Linked DNA regions of Homo sapiens: all the other regions are linked to region 1. The links are contacts of gene promoters, found by promoter capture Hi-C in human tissues and cell types (Jung and others, 2019). All regions are on one chromosome and are shown on one strand. The core of a region is centred on a gene start or on the middle of the fragment in contact, and the rest is flanking DNA. Distances in the headings are between cores, read along the strand shown. Region 1 holds the start of SH3D19 (SH3 domain containing 19). Region 2 overlaps SH3D19 (SH3 domain containing 19). Region 3 overlaps FHIP1A (FHF complex subunit HOOK interacting protein 1A). Region 4 overlaps SH3D19 (SH3 domain containing 19).

Region 1 (2,822 bases), core at 209-2,708:
TGTTCCAAGATTCTACCAAAGGCATTAAATTGACTATTTCTTCAAGATGTTCTTCTCAAGTTTTCCTTTCATCCTACTTTCTACCCTCCATTTGTTCCGCACAGATACAATATCTTCTCTATTTTTCCAACTTTCTCTTAGTGGTTAAGGGAGTCACACAGAAAAGCTTCTCCACTTCATGGAATATTCGCTATATTCCACTTTATAATGAGGCTCTCAGTGAATCGTTCTCCTCCGACTCTCTCACTTCCCTATCTCCCTTTTGTTGCCAGTCCCCCTAGGTTTGTTCTTCCCTCTTGTTTTCAGATAACTCGGATTACCCAGTTGGAACCAAAGGCCAAAGAATGTCCTCTCTATTATGTTTGATTGAAAAGCCGCCCGGAAGAGGGAAGGGGTGTGGATCTACACTTATTCACTCTTTCACTAATGTGCCAAACTATTTGATCCGTGCCGCTTTTGTGTACCCAAAACACAGTATCATAAAAGTAATTACAGGCCCGAAAATGATTCTCAGCCCAAATGAATGGCCTTTTGGAATGCTATATTCTGGACTTCTCTTTGCGTGGGGGAGGGTCTCACAACTAACGAAAACAAGTCCTACAGAAAACTGGTGAGCTCGGCGGCTGGGGGAGGGAGGGAGGGGGGTCACAGGTCCGAAGTGCAAGGGACGCCGAAACAGGACTTGCCTCAGTTATGAGCACGTGCTCTGACCTGGCTGCGGCGGCGCAGGCAAACCCCTCGGAAGGTGTCGTTGTCCACCGAGACGGCCATTGACCTCTGACTCATCCAGAGATAAGTCATCAACCAGGCCACAAGTCCCAAGCCAGCAGCTCCTGGATTTAGTGTGCACGGAAAATTTGAGTTTCAGCTGTACGACCACTAGCAGTTAAAGACGGGTCTGAATTTCCTCGGGCTCGGCCGGAAAGTGAGGATGGCGATGGAAATGCCACCCTCCCCGAGTCTGGCCTCTGAGAGTTAAAGAAGCCGGTCCCATCCCGGCGCGTGAAGGAGCTGCCGCTGTGTGGGGCAGGACCCGAGCGGCCCCAGAGCGCGCAGCTCTGGGTCCCCGCCGCCCCGTCCCCCGCGCCTCTCACCTGCGGCCGAGTGGCCCGAGAGCGCACGGCCCCGGGCGCGGCGCTGGCCACCAAGTTCGCGGCGCTCGCGTAGCTCTTCCTCCTCGTCCTCCCGCCGCCGGCCCTCAGCCATGGGCGAGGCGCGGGGCGCAGCCGCGGGATGGCCAGCGAGCTGCGGCCCCGGCGCCCCAGAACGCCTGCACCCGGCGCCCCACGCCACCGCCCTCGGGCCGGGGGGAAGGCGGCTCCCGGAGAGGAGGCGTCGGCGGCGGCTGTGGAAATGGCCACCTCCGCGAACTCCACCTGCAGCCGGCCGGGCAGCGGCAGGGCGCGGGCCGAGCCGATTCCCCGCCTCCTTGCGGCGTCCCGGCGGCCTCTTAATCCCTGGCCTTTCCCACTCCCACTCCCGCTCTCTTCCCCCTTCCTCTTTGCCTTCCCCGCCCCGTAGAGCTCCACCGCGGATCGGGCGGGTTCGGGGCTGGCCTCGCCTCCTCAGGGAGGGGTTATCGGCCCCTAAGGCCGCCCCACAGCCACACACGCTGGAAACACCAGCTCGACCCAAACAAACGTGTGCAAAATAAATAAACGGGATAGGAAGAGGGGAAAGAGGAGGTGGCCTGGCCTCTTCCTGCCTTTTCACGATATTCCAGTGTCAACAGGAAACCCATTTGTTTGACACTTAAACAAAAAGAGGAGGAACCCGACCGGGGCCGAACTGGGAGAGATGGGACAGCTGGGAGCTGCTGAACTTTGGAACAAACTTGGCTTGGAGTTGGGTCGAGCCTCTGCAATGCACACTTTTTTCTTTCCCTCTCTTTTCGCCCTTAAAAACCTAGACTTGCGGGAGCACAGAGGATTTTTAGGGCAGTGAAACTACTATGCGTATGATTCTGTAATAGCGGATGCCTTTGTCCAAGCCCAAAGAATGTACAAAACCAAGAGTGAACCGCAATGTAAACTATAGACTTTGGGTGATTATGAGGTGTCAATGTGGGTTCATCAATTGTAGCAACTGTGGCACTCTGGTGGGGGATGTTGATAATGGGGGAGGCTATGCATGTGTGGGAGCAGGGGGTACATGGGAAATCTCTGTACCTTTAGCTCAATTTTGCTGTGAACCTAAAACTGTTCTTAAAAATAGTCTAGTAAGACTGGAAGCGGTGGCTCATGCCTGTAATCCCAGCCCTTTGGGAGGTCGAGGCGGGCAGATCACGAGGTCAGGATATCGAGACCATCCTGGCTAACACGGTGAAACCCCGTCTTTACTAAAAATACAAAAAAAAAAAAAAATAGCCAGGCGTGGTGGCGGGCGCCTGTAGTCCCAGCTACTCGGGAGGCTGAGGCAAGAGACTGGCCTGAACCCAGGAGGCAGAGCTTGCAGTGAACGGAGATCGCACCACTGCACTCCAGCCTGGGCAACAGAGCGAGAGTCCTTCTCGAAAAAAAAAAAAAGTCTAATAAAAATGTTTAATAATAAATCAAGCCTCACTGTATTCCAGTTCATTTAGGGCTAGGATATGGCTACAATTCCTAGAAGAACAGGAAGAAATGTGTTAAAGAGACCCATACGTGATTATTTGTAGAGAGGCAACTAGGGGAAGTGGAGAGACCACTGGCTCTGGAGTCAGAAACTGTAATTTGAAGCACTTAGCTGTGTGAGCTACCCCTAAGAAAGTTTTTCAAAGCTGGAAAGAACCGTGTAACCAAAGTTGTGTGTACCTGCACAATACACATCTTAGGTTCAGTAGG
Region 2 (2,822 bases), core at 106-2,605, 120 kb before region 1:
TGTTGATGAAAGAAGACAAAACAATAAAGTCTTCTATTACTCACTGGCATAGATCTGATGTCAGTGTTCATAAGACAAGCAATACACTTCCCTCTTCATACAACATATTATATGGCATGGCTTTTGTTTCTCCATAAATACTGTAAAGTACTACCCTACTCTATTTTCTCAATATATTCATGGCACCCTAATCTATATGGAAATAAATTCTAGAATCAAGGCTATAGTTTTGGTAGTCCTAAAACCAACATGAGTATGTTAGGTATGTGACTTTCATTTCTAAATTACGGTATTGTTATCATTATTTCCTCTAATGGTATTGCATTGACTTGTGAGGTTAAAACAACTGAAACCCCTTTAAACTTGAATTAAATTAAAGGGGTTTTTATTATGAGCATACAAAGGTATCCTGGGAATGGGTATGAACAGGAAGTGCAGCTGAACTTTGGGCAGTGCTGGGAAACAAGGCAGCTTCTCGTGCATGCTCTCATTCTTCCTCACTTTCTCTTTGGGACTACATCACCTCCGCTTCAGTTTTTGCAGTCTTCTCTTGAACTCCCTGCTCATTCACTGGCATACCTGGCCAGTGTTCATCAGCATGCATATCCTACCAAGCCCAAATCTAAATAATTTTAAACCTCCAGAAACCATGGCTGTCAGCTCTGTCTTTTAGTTTAAACTTTCATGAGAAAAAACTTGATTAGCATACCTTATAGGATAGAGTTCTATCAGCTATGGCCAAATGGGGTAGGACCACGTGGAAACCTGGCCATAGGTGCCTTTCTTTCAGCTGAGACTGGAGGCTTGGGAGGCAGTTCTCAGGGATGCATGAGATAAGATTTAGTAGCAGTGCATCACCACCTCATCGTTCAAAGCTATGGAAAAAAACTAAACACTGAAATGCAGGCCTAGAGAATCTACAAGAGGAACAATTACAGGAGTTGTTTCCAGAGTGATTGGTAAAAGCTTGAAACCCAAGGCCACCAGGAAGTATCCTAACAGTTTATCATGCTTTTACCATTAGCTATTTTACTTCTGAGTGGCCTATCTTTTCCTACTTTGAGTTAGAGGGCAAAGAAGACATCCTGCATTCAGAATGAGAGGAGATTAGGTTATGCTCAAAGAAATGCAATGAGCTTCCCTAAAGGAAGTTGATCACTGTGTGGAAAAATTAGCACTAGTGAAAAGAGAGGACCAAATCTGTATCTTTTCTTCAGGTAGCCAAAGGTAATATTTTGCCACTATGACAGAGGCCTGTGGGACTACTCAACAGTTCCTATCAACTCCAGACTTTACCAGTTCATACAAAGCAGGCATATGTAACAATAGTGTGCTTCTCCAAGCACGAAGGGATAGCACAAATGTATAAGAGCAAATACCGCCTGGATCAAGGTGTTTATGCAGATGCTGGCTTATGCTCCTTCACAGAATCCCACCATGACCACACACCCTGGCTTGAGTTGAGAGAATTCTTTAGGACAATAATAATGCAATTGTAGTTTCTTATGACAAAACTAACAAACATCAAACTGATATGTCAGAAAGAACTTCTGGGTTACAGAGACTTGAAGAGCCCTGACCTTGAAAAGCAGAGATAACACTGAAAATCATTTCCAAGTGGGTTTAGCCTGCTTAACTGAGGTCCAAAGCAACTGTGATAATCAATTTGATGTGTCAACTTGGCTAAGCTACAGTCTCCAGTTATTTAATCAAACATTAATTTACACGTCACTATAAAGGCATTATGTCAGTGTGATTAAAGTCCACCAGTTGATGGGACTTTATCAGGGTATAGTATGGGAGATTATTCTATGAAATCTGTGTGGGCCTGATTTAATCAGTTAAAAAGCCTTAAGAGCAGAGCTGAGGCTTCCATAATGAAAAGAAATTCCACTTGTGGATGGCAGCTTCACTCCATGGGTGAGAGTTCCAGCCTGCCCTTCCTGATGGCCTGCCTTACGAAATTCTGACTTGCCTAAATCAGCTCCAACAATCACATAAATATTTCCCTGCAATAAATCTTTATCTCTCTCTTTTTTTTAAAGATGGAGTTTCACTCTTGTTGCCCAGGTTGGAGTGCAAAGGTGCAATCTTGGCTCACTGCAACCTCTGCCTCCTGAGTTCAAGAGATTCTCCTGCCTCAGCCTCCTAGGTAGCTGGGATTACAGGCATGCGGCACGAAACCTGGCTAGTTTTTTGTATTTAGTAGAAATGGGGTTTCACCATGTTTGTCAGGCTGGTCTCCAACTCCTGGCCTCAGGTGATCCACCTGCCTTGGCCTCCCAAAGTGCTGGGATTACAGGCATGCACCACTGTGCCCGGCCCCAGGAAATCTCTTTTTTTTTTTTTTGAGATGGAGTCTTGCTCTGTCACCCAGGCTGGAGTGCAGTGGCATGATCTCAGCTCACTGCAAGCTCCGTCTCCTGGGTTCACGCCATTCACCTGCCTTAGCCTCCCGAGTAGCTGGGACTACAGGCGCCCACCACCACGCCCGGGTAATTTTTTGTATTTTTAGTAGAGACGGGGTTTCACCGTGTTAGCCAGGATGATCTTGATCTCCTGACCTTGTGATCCGCCCGCCTCAGCCTCCCAAAGTGCTGGGATTACAGGCTTGAGCCACCATGCCCGGCCAGTAAATCTCTTTAATATACATCTCCTACTGGTCCTGTTTCTCTGGTTGAACCCTGACTGATAAAGCAACTAAATAATTATAATAACCCCAAGAGATAGGTACTTTAATTAGCTCCATTTATAGATGAGGAAACTGAGGTAAAGAAAGATTAAGAAACTTTCCCAGGGAACCCAGCTCCCAAGTGGTGAAG
Region 3 (2,822 bases), core at 175-2,674, 110 kb after region 1:
TTCCTTGGTAGGTTCTTAGATACTCTCCGAGATGTTTGCGTTCTCAGGAATACCTGTTTCTGGTTCGGGCACCATGGCCTTGGCTCACTGCCTGGCCTGCAGGATTCAGGCAGTGGACATACTAGTAACCTAGCGGGGCACCTGTCACACTACACTAACCAGAAAAAGGATTTAATTCTTTTCATTGTATTTCTCTCTCCCTTTCCCTCATCTGAAAACCAAAAGTATGGGATTTGTTTAACTAAAAAACAAAAAAACAAAACAAAACAAAAAAATCTACCTCACCAGAATTATTTATTTATTTATATTAGATTGGTGCAAAAGTAATTGCGGTTTTTGCCTTTTTTTTTTTTTTTTTAAAGGCAAAAATTGTGATTACTTTTCACCAACCTAATAGACAAGAATCTGGCCCTGTTACCCAGGCTGGAGTGCGGTGGCATGATCATAGCTCATTGCAGCCTCCAATTTCTGGGCTCAAGTGATCCTCCCACCTCAGCCTCCCTAGTAGCTGTGATTACAAGTACACACCACCGCACCTGGCTAATTTTTAAAATTCTTTGTAGAGAATGGGGTCTTGCTGTGTTGCTCAGGCTGGGCGTGAGCTTCTGTCCTCAAGTGATACTCCCACCTCAGCCTCCGGAATTTTGTTTAAAAAAGAAAGGTTACGTTAGGGTCTTGAAAGTGTCTTTTGAAGTAGTATGTAGTTGAAAACATATCTTTAAGGACACTTTATTGAATTAATGAAACACCCGTGTACTCAGCATAATACTGATTATATTATATAGTTTCAAGTTTTCTTTTATTTTAAAGCATGTTTTCTTCAAATGAAGCTTAAACGGTTGCGTTTTCCACATATAAATATGTTTCAATTCTGGTAGACTCAGATGAAAAATCTAGAACCTAGTTTCCTAATTAACAATAAAGATTGTGCTATATGAAGTTATGCATAAATAATTAAAAGAGGATGGCTTGGCATTAAAAGGACTGACTCCAGAGTCTTCCTTGGGGAAGGGTTGTTGTGGGGACTAAAGGAGTTTATTATTTATGACAAGTATTTAGAATAGTGTCTGACACAAAGTAAGTGCTATATAAGTGTTTGCTGTTTTTATTATTGCTATTATGTGGCTTAAGCCATTTATTTGTATAATTTTAAAAAGTTTTTTTTTTTCATTACCTTACCCCTAGAAGGATTTGAGCCTCTTCCAAAGCAACTGAAAGGGCTTCTGCTTTCAGTAGAAGTTAATGAAAAGCTAGAGTTTTGGAACTCCCCCTTCTGCCCCAGCTGTCTTTTGTTCTAAGATGAAGTTTCTTAAATTTGGTGGTTCTACATTTTCTCCTCTGTAACATGATGGTCTAAGTTGACATCTGTAAGATGACAGTTCCAAGTTCTGATATCTTTTCAAGCCACAACAATTCTGTGACTCTTTGATCTTACCTTCTGCTTAAGCAAGAATGTTAGGGTTATTCCTTTAGAATTTTAGAACTGGAAAAGGCATTAACCAAACACTCCACTCTCTGGGGAACTCATCACTTCTCCTAGCTTCATTTAGTTTTTGTTGTTGTTTTCTTATAAATTACTAGCAATCTTTGTTCTTCCTTTTATGTATTTTTCTAAAGCACTTTTTACATACTGTATAATGTATTTAGTTATTACGTTTATTGTCTCTATCTCCATGTTGAATGTAAGTGTATTAGTCCGTTCTCACATTGCTATGAAGAAATACCCAAGACTGGGTCATTTATAAAGAAAAGAGGTTTAATTGACTCACAGTTCTGCATGGCTGGGGAGGCTTCAGGAAATTTACAGTCATGGCAGAAGACACCTATTCACAGGGCAGCAGGAGAGAGAATGAGTGCCAGCAGGGGAAGTGTCAGACACTTATAAAACCATGAGATCTTGTGAGAACTCACTCACTATCATGAGAACAGAATGGGGGGGAACTGCCCCCATGATTCTGTTACCTCCCACTGGGTCCCTCTCATGACATGTGGGGATTACGAGTGTTACAATTCAAGATGAGATTTGGGTGAGGACACAGCCAAACCATGTCAGTAAGCTTCATGAAAGCAGGGGTCTTTGTCTTTTTTGTTCAGGTGCCTGACACATAGTAGGTGCCAAGTAGGGGCTCAAAAATATTGTTGGATGAACAAACAAATAGATTTTCAATTGTCTACTGGACAATTTCTAGTAGCTAGTCATCTCCAGTTCTTTTCTGAAGCAACTATCTTTCATGATTTTTCTTATCTCCACCAATGACACTACCTCCATGTTGTCAAGAGCAAACTCCTAGAGAAGTTGGCAGCCACACCTAGAACAGAAAAATTCAGTGATTTTCAAGGGGATTTAGGATAGTCACCACCATCATGGCCCTGGGTACACAAACAGTAGCAGTACAGTGTCACACAAGGTAGATGGAGCTGAATCTTCTCAGAGAACTGGGGGTAACTGGCCAACTGCCCAGGAAATTGCTTCAAGTTACCAAAATTTATTACAAAATCATAGCTTCTGTTGGGTATGCCTGATATGCTTCCTCTGTCATGTTAGTTCCATTGGAGATTCCTTATTGCTTCCAAGCAAATTCCCAGTTTTTGCAGCTTGGCATCCAGTTCCATCTCACACTAGTGCCCCTTGTCAGTTATCTGCTCAGCTGAGGCCTCCTCCTTAGTGTCGCCGAATGCAGTCCTGCTTCTGCTTTAAATCCCCTCTGTTCACTAGGCTGTTTTTCTTCACCCATTCAAATCCAACTTTTCTAATTGACTACGCCAGCTTCTCAGCCCTCACTTGCATGAAGCCCCCCTATCATGTTTCTGGGCTCCCAAAC
Region 4 (2,822 bases), core at 158-2,657, 97 kb before region 1:
GTTAGCACATTTCTGGTTCCAATTTTTCTACACTGTGACTTAGTATTACTGCAGCTTTTAAAACTTTTCTGTTTTAATTTAACTTGGTTTTACCCCTCCCTTAAATGAAAATATCATGTTTTTCATTTGATGAGTATTAAGATTTTAAAGTCATAGTAACGCAGGGCACATTTAAATCATTTCTCTCAATCATTCTCCAGTTTTTAGCCTGCTAGCTTCGCTACAAAAATGAAGTATAATGTCTCAAAGTAAAGCCAGAAACTGAATACAGATTAGCTATCCTCATATAACAAAGCAACAACTCTTACCTGTGGCTAAAGCCGAGCTAAAACTCTGTCCAGAACATCATTTCCTGTGGCTGTGATCCTAGTTACATAGTTTACTTAGGCATGTAATAGCAAATTTCCCCACTAATCTTCCTAGTGGTACAACACACAAGAGGAAGGGAGAAACAGAGTCACGATGCATGTAAACAAGACTCAGTATCCAAGGGCTTCCCTCCAGGGCCTGTTCTGATTGGCAGATGTGCTATGACCAGTCTGCACAGCTGGAATGTGGCCACTCAGGAAGCAAATGGCTCACAGCTCTCCTTCGTTCTTGGTTAAAACAGGAAATTCTACAGTCATTTTTATACTTTCTGCTCTAAGAAAATACAAATGTCTTCTCATAGCACTTTTCTATTGAACCAGTAATTAAAATTCAACAAAAGACTTGATTATCTGCTGGGGGAAATTTTAAAATTTTCCCCCCAAATTCACTATTAGTGTTATCTGTGTTACATTCCTGTGTAAATATAGATACGCAGTACTTATAAAATGTTACTCCTAAGAATTCACATAGTTGATAATTTGAGGGTAAGGGTAAATTATCCATTACTCACAATATTTCCCATCCCTCACCTCTTGACCATGAAAAACAAATTGAAACACATGTTCTTGGCTTGATCTTTTCCCTCAAAGTATACAAATATTTGGATTTCACATTTTGCCATAAAGCCATCTTTTAGCTTAAATACATATAAATAATGGGGTGTGTGTTGCGTATCTGTGTGTCTTATATACTTATACTTTTTCATATACTTACATTTTAAAGTAATTTTCATGATAGTCAAGATTATTGTGCAATTGTCAAGAAATATATTAGTAGAAATAAATTTTTTGGCAAAATAATAAGTGGTTATTATTTTGTTCCAAAAGCCAAGACTGAACAAAACAAATCACTGAGGGTGGATTCAGAATCTGCTTTCTTGCCAACAATAACAAAACATTTGGATGAAAGCCCAAGAATGAGAACAGATCTATAGCAAACATGGAAATTTAATCTTGGCTATATATAGTGCTTTAAGTGTATGGATTTTATTTTAAATCAAATACTCTTCAGCACATTCTCTGAATTTTTTCTTTTCTTTTTTTTTTTCTTTTGAGACAAGGTTTCGCTCTGTACTCCAGGCTGGAGTGCAGTGGTGCAATCACAGCTCACTGCAGCCTTGAGCTCCTGAGCTCAAGTGATCCTCCCATCTCAGCCTCCCAAGTAGTTGAAGTAGTTAGGATTACAGGCACATGCCACCACGCCTAGCTAATTAAATTTTTTTTTTTTTTTTTGTAGAGACAGGGTCTCCCTATTTTGTCCAGGCTGGTCTCAAACTTCGGGACTCAAGCGATCCTCCTGCCTTGGCCTCCCAAAGTGTTGGGATTGCAGGCATGAGCCACTGTGCTCAGCCTTCCAATTTTTTAGTTTCTAATTTTCAAATTAATTGGGGGAGAATATTTCTAAAGGTTTTCTGAACTTCTGCATATTTAGAAATCATATGAATAACTTTCTAGCCCAAAGTCTCATCATTTCTATGAAAAAAAGAGTTATTAAAAATAAAATGCCTTAACTCTAAAATTTGCCAAATGCTACACATTTGCTGTGGATGATATACTTATTCCAGGGGCCTGCCCAGCAGAGCATGATGGTTTAGGTCACTCAAAGACCAGCAGTATATACTCAGTGTGAGGGTAACCATGGCTGGGTAACCATGTAATGGTTTTATAGATATGTATCACACACACACATACACACACACACCCCGCTCTTCCATTCCCTGTCCCTCTCATCCATGCCTCATGGTTAATAAGGCTAACTGAGGAATAGAAAAGTACTCTGTAAGTAGAACAAAGACAGAAAACAAGGCAGAGGCTGGGTGCAGTGGTTCACACCTGTAATCCCAGTACTTTGGGAGGCCGAGGTGGGTGGATCACCTGAGGTCAGGAGTTTGGGACCAGCCTGGCCAACATGGCAAAACCGCATCTCTACCAAAAGTACAAAAAAATTAGCTGGACGTGGTGGTGCACGCCTGTAATCCCAGCTACTCTGCGGGCTGAGGTGGGAGGATCACTTGAGCTCGGGAGATGAAGGGTGCAGTGAGCCAAAATCACGCCACTGCATTCCAGCCTGGGTGACGGAGTGAAACTCTGTCTCAAAAACAAAAACAAAAACAAAAAACAAGGCAGAGCTGGCACAAAGACTATTGGTTGTGTGTGTATAAATGCTGTGGGGGAGATGTGAGGGATGCAATGGGGGAACCCATGGTATGTCAAGGGGACTGAAGAACAGTTAGGGGAGTGGTGGGATGCTATCATGGGTCAAGGATTCTGTGTAAGAACTCCAGATTATCCACATTTTCCTTTCATGTCAACTTGGTTCTATGTAATCTAGACATATGATTCCAATGTTTATGTATTTAGGTGTTACGCCACTTACGTAGAAATGGGCCCCTGTTCTGGCACAGACAGTTTTTGGGTACGGCTACGCAGATCCTACTGATGTGGAACCATTCA

The links. The method cuts DNA at HindIII sites, captures the fragments that hold promoters and counts their contacts. A contact is called where the count stands out against the background at its distance.
Region 2: a contact is called between a fragment that was not itself captured here and the fragment with the promoter of SH3D19 in region 1, in 2 of the 25 tissues and cell types used here (hippocampus and stomach).
Region 3: a fragment that was not itself captured here is called in contact with the fragment with the promoter of SH3D19 in region 1 in 2 of the 25 tissues and cell types used here (mesenchymal stem cells and mesendoderm cells).
Region 4: a fragment that was not itself captured here is called in contact with the fragment with the promoter of SH3D19 in region 1 in 2 of the 25 tissues and cell types used here (aorta and hippocampus).

What each region holds. Positions count from the first base shown.
Region 1 is chr4:151,324,147-151,326,968 of GRCh38, forward strand. It overlaps SH3D19 (SH3 domain containing 19), which reads right to left and starts at 1,459. Exons shown (of 20, transcript NM_001378122.1): 1 at 1,095-1,459. The coding sequence starts at 1,206. The HindIII fragment of the contact is 31,894 bases long and covers 1-2,822 here.
Region 2 is chr4:151,206,346-151,209,167 of GRCh38, forward strand. The region is part of intron 2 of SH3D19 (SH3 domain containing 19); the gene reads right to left. Among named protein-coding and RNA genes, the nearest start is that of PRSS48, 69 kb to the right of the region's middle. The HindIII fragment of the contact is 4,994 bases long and covers 1-2,822 here.
Region 3 is chr4:151,438,265-151,441,086 of GRCh38, forward strand. The region is part of intron 1 of FHIP1A (FHF complex subunit HOOK interacting protein 1A); the gene reads left to right. Among named protein-coding and RNA genes, the nearest start is that of FHIP1A, 30 kb to the left of the region's middle. The HindIII fragment of the contact is 5,665 bases long and covers 1-2,822 here.
Region 4 is chr4:151,227,452-151,230,273 of GRCh38, forward strand. The region is part of intron 1 of SH3D19 (SH3 domain containing 19); the gene reads right to left. Among named protein-coding and RNA genes, the nearest start is that of PRSS48, 48 kb to the right of the region's middle. The HindIII fragment of the contact is 5,786 bases long and covers 1-2,822 here.